Regions from separate parts of the Homo sapiens genome. Here region 2 is linked to region 1. Evidence: promoter capture Hi-C in human tissues and cell types (Jung and others, 2019). All regions are on one chromosome and are shown on one strand. The core of a region is centred on a gene start or on the middle of the fragment in contact, and the rest is flanking DNA. Distances in the headings are between cores, read along the strand shown. Region 1 holds the start of ACSBG2 (acyl-CoA synthetase bubblegum family member 2). Region 2 holds the start of FUT6 (fucosyltransferase 6).

The links. The method cuts DNA at HindIII sites, captures the fragments that hold promoters and counts their contacts. A contact is called where the count stands out against the background at its distance.
Region 2: a contact is called between the fragment with the promoter of FUT6 here and the fragment with the promoter of ACSBG2 in region 1, in 1 of the 25 tissues and cell types used here (stomach).

Annotation. Positions count from the first base shown.
Region 1 is chr19:6,134,159-6,137,307 of GRCh38, forward strand. It overlaps ACSBG2 (acyl-CoA synthetase bubblegum family member 2), which reads left to right and starts at 1,509. Exons shown (of 15, transcript NM_030924.5): 1 at 1,509-1,751. All of the region lies in intron 3 of LOC105372255 (a long non-coding RNA gene), which reads right to left. RefSeq lists enhancers at 473-1,376, 1,377-2,279. The HindIII fragment of the contact is 13,898 bases long and covers 1-3,117 here.
Region 2 is chr19:5,838,055-5,841,203 of GRCh38, forward strand. FUT6 (fucosyltransferase 6) reads right to left here and starts at 1,648. Exons shown (of 3, transcript NM_000150.4): 1 at 623-1,648. The HindIII fragment of the contact is 16,612 bases long and covers 1-3,149 here.

The sequences.
Region 1 (3,149 bases), core at 259-2,758:
GGCGGGTGGATCACCTGAGGCCACGAGGTGGAGACCAGCCTGGCCAACATGGTGAAAACCCATCTCTACTAAAAATACAGAAAATTAGTCGGGAGTGGTGGTGCATGCCTGTAACCTCAGCTACTTGGGAGGCTGAGGCAGGAGAATCGCTTGAACCCGGGAGGCAGAGGTTGCAGTGAGCCAAGATCACGCTATTGCACTCCAGTCTGGGCAACAAGAGCCAAACTCCGTCTCTCTCTCTCTCTCACACACACACACAAAAGGCCCTGGAGACAAAGGAACACTCCTTGTCCTTTTCTCCTGGCACAGCACAAGATTCTGTTGCTACATCTTTATTTACTGAGCATCTAGTATGTGCTGCACCTGGCACTGTTTTGTCTTTTTTGTTTTGAGACAAGGTCTTGCTCTGTAGGCCTGGCTGGAGTGCCATGGTACCATCACAGCTCACTGCAGCCTGGAACTCCTGGGCTCAAACAATCCCCCCACCTCAGCCTCCCTACTAGCTGTGGTTACACTTGCGCACCACCACGCCCGGCTAATTTTTTAAATTTTTCTGTAGAGACGGGGTCTTACTACATTGCCCAGGCTGGTTTTGAACTCCTGGCCTCAAGTGATGCTACGGACTTGGCCTCCCAAAGTGCTGGGATTCCAGGCACAAGCCACTGTGCCTGGTAGTGGACATTGTTAGCAGTGACTAAAGCAGAGAACGAGAAGGGGGAGGCCGCTGTAAACACATGAAGACAGGCAGCGTAAGAGAAAGTCACGAGGGCAGGAATAACATCCAGGCATACTTCAGATCCCAGCTCAAGAAACCACTCCCAGGCCAGGCGCGGTGGCTCACGCCTGTCATCTCAGCACTTTGGGAGGCCAAGGCGGGCGGATCACAAGGTCAGGAGTTTGAGACCAGCCTGGCCAACATGGCGAAACCCCGTCTGTACTAAAAATACAAAAGATTAGCCGGGCGTGGTGGCGGGCGCCTGTAATCCCAGCTACTCGGGAGGCTGAGGCAGGAGAATCGCTTGAACCTGGGAGGCAGACGTTGCAGTGAACTGAGATCGCACCATTGCACTCCAGCCTGGGTGACAGAGCAAGACTCCCGTCTCAAAAAACGAAAGAAAAGAAAGAAACCACTCCCAGACTCCCTGCCTGGGCGGGATCCTTTGATCAAGCCCTCAACATGCCTTGGGGCTCTCTTCACAATGGTAAGTTTGCATTTGTTTGTGTGATTCTAGGCCTCCTCTTATTTTCTTGAACAGGCCTCATCTGGCTTTGTTCATCTTTATGTCTCCAGCATCCAGCACAATCCCTGCCATTAGGGTCATGGCTTCATAAAAACGTCACGAATGCAACGCAGAAGTGCATGCATGCATGAATAAATGAATGATGCATGAAAAGAGCAATCTCCCTGTCCTGGAAGCAGCTTCCCCTAGGGGTGGGGGTGGGGTGCGGAGGCAGGGGCAGCCAGTGATGTCACAAGAGGTGGCTGGGATGGAACGTTCTGGAAGGTTGAATGGGGTAGAAGGCCTGTTGTGGAGGGAAACCACCCATCCTCCTGCCTCCCACCACCACCATCATCCTGGCTGGACGGAGAGGGTGACGGGGGCTGGGAAGGGGCAGCTCATGTTCAGGTTTCCAGGAGGGGCTACCTGTTGACTGTCTTTGCAGGAAGAAGAAAACACCTGAGTGACCAGATGTCCCAGCTCCAGGTGCCTTGCCAGATGGCCAGAACCACACCTCTTGAAGAGTGACAGGTGCCAGTGGTATGGGAGAAGGGCATGCGTTTTCTTTTCTTTTTTTTTTGAGACAGGGTCTCACTCTTTTGCCCAGGCTATAGTGCAGTGGCACGATCTCAGCTCACTGCAACCTCTGCCTCCCAGGCTCAAGTGATACTCCCACCTCAACCTCCCAAGTAGCTGAGATTACAGGCGCCTGCCACCATGTCCAGCTAATTTTTTTTTTTTTTTTGAGACAGAGTCTTGCTCTGTTGCCCAGGCGCAATCTCGGCTCACTGCAAGCTTCGCCTCCCAGGTTCACACCATTCTCCTGCCTCAGCCTCCTGAGTAGCTGGGACTACAGGTGCCTGCCACCATGCCCGGCTAATTTTTTGTATTTTTTAGTAGAGATGGGGTTTCACCACATTAGCCAGGATAGTCTCAATCTCCTGACCTCGTGATCCACCCGCCTTGGCCTCCCAAAGTGCTGGGATTACAGGCGTGAGCCGCCATACTCGGCCTAATTTTTATATTTTTAGTAGAGATGGGGTTTCGCCATACCAGCCAGGCTGGTCTTGAACTTCTGACCTCAGGTGATCCACCCGCCTCGACCTCTCAAAGTGCTGGGATTATAGGCACGCGCCACCATGCCCAGCTAATTTTTGTATTTTTAGTAGAGATGGGGTTTCACCATGCCAGCCAGGCTGGTCTCGAACTCCTGGCCTCAAGCGATCCACCCGACTCAGCCTCCCAAAGTGCTGGGATTACAGGTGTGAGTCACCACATCTGAACCCTACATGGCCTTTTAAAATTGTGAAACATATAATGCATATAAAATAACACAAAGCATATCTGTACGATTTAATGAATAACGATAAATATCTGTGTGCCCTTTTCACTTCGTGAAATCGAATATTACTAGTAACTTACAAGTCCTCTGTAGAGAACTCCTGAGCTCAAGTGATCCACCTGCCACGGCCTCCCAAAGTGCTGGGATCACAGGTGTGAGCCTCCGCACCCGGCCGATCGTGTGATTTTTAACGTGCAGTTCCCTGATGACCAAAGCTACTGAGCATCTTGTCCAGGATTTGTAGCCCTTTCCAGGCTCCTTTTTTGTGAACTGCCTGTTTACATTTTTCATCATAAAACACTGGGTTGTTTACATTTGTCTTTTAAATCCAGAGTTCTTTTCATACTCCGGATACTAATTTTATTTGCCCATTTTGCATTGCCATAAAGTAATACCTGAAGATGGGCAATTTATAAAGAAAAGAGGGGCCTGGTGTGGTGGCTCACACCTGCAAATCCCAGCACTTTGGGAGGCCGAGGTGGCGGGGTTGGGGGGGGGGGGGGGGCTTGCTTGAGGCCAGGAGTTCAAGACCGGCCTGGGCAATATAGCGAGGCCCCCAGCTCTACAAAAATAAAAATAAAAATAAA
Region 2 (3,149 bases), core at 398-2,897, 300 kb before region 1:
CATGTGGCCCCTGGGTTTATGGCGACCTCTTCCTAGGAGACAGTGAAGTCTTTGCCGGTGACCTTCAGGAGGGGAGATTGGGGGAAACGGGGAACGGGAGTCCAGGAGAGAGATCTCACCCAAGGTACTTTCCCTGGAAAATGATCGATCCACGCCACAAAGATCAGGATGCAAAAAAACAAAGCCAGAAAGCAAACCGCATTCTAAGCCCTCTTTTACCACCGGGAGTGGCAGAGGCAGAGAAAATCCGGGGCCAGGAAGGATGAAGGGGTGTAGGCTGCTGATGGGGTCGGGGGGCACGGGATTCTACCGCAGAGCTCTGCAAGAGAGACAGACAGACACCCACTTCCTCCTGGTTTGGCAAATCAGCCAGACCTCCCATATCCTCAGCCCACCTCGGTGCATCCAGAAAGACCCCTGCCTGCGACTAGGGGCTGCTGGCCAAATGCCAGGCCACTGCACAGCCTGCAGACCCTCCCCCAGGGATCTTGTGCCAGCCCACCCGCACTCTGAATTACAGCAGACAGGACTGAGGCTGAGGGGAGGAGGCTCGGAGCCAGGAGGCCTTTCCCTGGACCCATGCGATCCGGGTTGGGGGTGAAAGTGGGACAAGAGGCCTTACCTGGGGGGGCCAGTGTGCAGAGGGCCCTAGAGCTGAGAGGCCGCGGACGGAGTAACAGCTGGATTCTGAGGACGTGGAAGAGGCCACACCACGCAGCAGAAGGAAGGAGGAAGTGTACCCGGAGCTGAAACCAGGCCCTTTCCAACCACCACACCTGTCATCAGGTGACCCAGGGCATCCTGTCCTGGAGCCCGGACATCCTTTGAAAACAAATCGTGGGGCTCCCCTAATCCCCGTTGCAGAACCAAACAGGGTGAAGGGATTTGGAGACTCAGGTCATGCATGACCTTGCCCCACCTGTGGCTTCAATGCGATGTGGCTTTGAGTACAAAGTGAAAAGGCTGACCTGAACCACCGGTTCCCAAAGCGGGTTCCACAGGGACACCAGGGGTTCCTTGGGAGGTGGGAATGAGGAAGTGAGCAGAATTTCTACCTTTCCGCTTTCCTTCCCACCAGATCCCACCTTCTCACTCAGTTGGCCCATCACCAAATATTTCCTGAGCACTAAGTGCCAGGCCAAGGGATCTTGCAGGAAACCGGTGGGCAAGTCAGGCAACTCATGAACCTTGGAAGGGAACTTTCTTCAATTAAAATTGCAGCCTTTTGAATAAAAAAGGGATGGAAGGGCATTCCAGTTACAAGGAACAACCTTCGCAAAGGCCCTGAGGCAGCAGAAATGCAGGCATGTTGAGGAACTGCAGGAGGAGTCTCAGCAGGCTGGGTCTTCACCACTGGAGAGGAGGCAGAGCTGTTGCAGAGGCTGGGCCACGGTCAGCCATAGGGTGTTCAGCACCAAGGCAATAGGGAGCCATGTGAGGCTTCAAGCAGAGGGGTTACCATGTCGATACATGTTTTCAGATGCTCTCTTCTGGTAGGCTGGGCACAGGTCCCATATTGGTGGCAGAAGCTTCCTCCGGTGGCCTCAACAAGCCCCTCTGTGTGCCTCAAAGCCACTTCCTTTCCCCACCCACTCCTGCAGGGCAGTGCAAAGCAGAAGTCCAGGGAGCTATGCAAACTTCCTGGAATGGAGAGAAATGATCTGGAATACTGGTTTTGAGGGAGGATGACCTTAAACTCTCTCACTCCCAAGCTGGGTGCAAAGGTGACCGAGCTCAAAGCCCAGCCTCCAAGTATCACGACTGCCCTGTTCTAGAAATCATTTCTGGGAGGCTGCATCATGCTGCCTGAGTTCTACTATCTCAGTGCCCAGCCACGCCCAGACCAGTGAGGTTCTGGGAGGTAGGGATGGGCCAGGGGGTTGGGGTCTCCCAGAGCTCCAGAAGTGGCAACCTAATTCCACTCATGTCTCATTCCTTGACTGGTGAGGTTGACTGTAACTTATTAAAAAAATGACTTCTGGGGGCCGGGCGTGGTGGCTCACGCCTGTAATCCCAACACTTTGGGAGGCCGAGGTGGGCAGATCACGAGATCAGAAGATCAAGACCATCCATCCTGACTAACATGGTGAAACCCTGTCTCTACTAAAAATACAAAAAAATTAGCCAGGCGTGGTAGTGGGTGCCTGTAGTCCCAGCTACTTGGGAGGCTGAGGCAGGAGAATGGTGTGAACCCGGGAGGCGGAGCTTGCAGTGAGCCTAGATTGAGCCACTGCACTCCAGCCTGGGCGACAGTGCAAGACTCTGTCTCAAAAAAAAAAAAAAAAAAAAAAAAGACTTCTGAGGCCATGCACAGTGACTCACACCTGTAATCCCAACAGTTTGGGAAGGAGAGGCAGGAAGATCGCTTGAGCCCAGGAGTCTGAGACCAGCCTAGGGAAAACAGAGATACCCCTATCTCTCTCTTTTTTTTGAGATGGAATCTTGCTCTGTCACTCGGGCTGGAGTGCAGTGGCACAGTCTCAGTTTACTGTAACCTATGCCTCCCGGGCTCAAGCGATTCTCATGCCCCAGCCTCCCGAGTAGCTGGGACTACAGGCGCGTGACACGGCACTGGGTAACTTTCGTATTTTTTTAATAGAGCTGGTTTTCGCCATGTTAGCCAGGCTGATCTTGACCTCCTGACTTCAGGTGATCTGTCTGCCTCAGCCTCCTAAAGTACTGGGATTAGAGGCCAGGCATGAGCCACTCCGCCCAGCTGGGTTTTTTTTCTTTTTTTTTTTTGAGACAGAGTCTCGCTCTGTGGCCCAGGCTGGAGTGCAGTGGCACGATCTCGGCTCATGGCAAGCTCTGCCTCCTGGGTTCACGCCATTCTCCTGCCCCAAGTAGCTGGGACTACAGGCGTCCGCCATCACGCCCAGCTAATTTTTTTTTTTTTTTTTGTATTTTTAGTAGAGACATGTTAGCCAGGATGGTCTCGATCTCCTGACCTTGTGATCCGCCCGCCTCGGCCTCCCAAAGTGCTGGGATTACAGGCGTGAGCCACCACGCCCCGCCCCCAGCTGGGTTGTTTCTTAAGGATTCAAAATCCAAAGGTAGGTCTCTAGTGAGGGACAGTAGGGCTCTAGTCATTCCATCGATGTGATCGCTGGGCAAAGGGAGGGTGGAGGACCTTGGGCTGACCTCAGGGA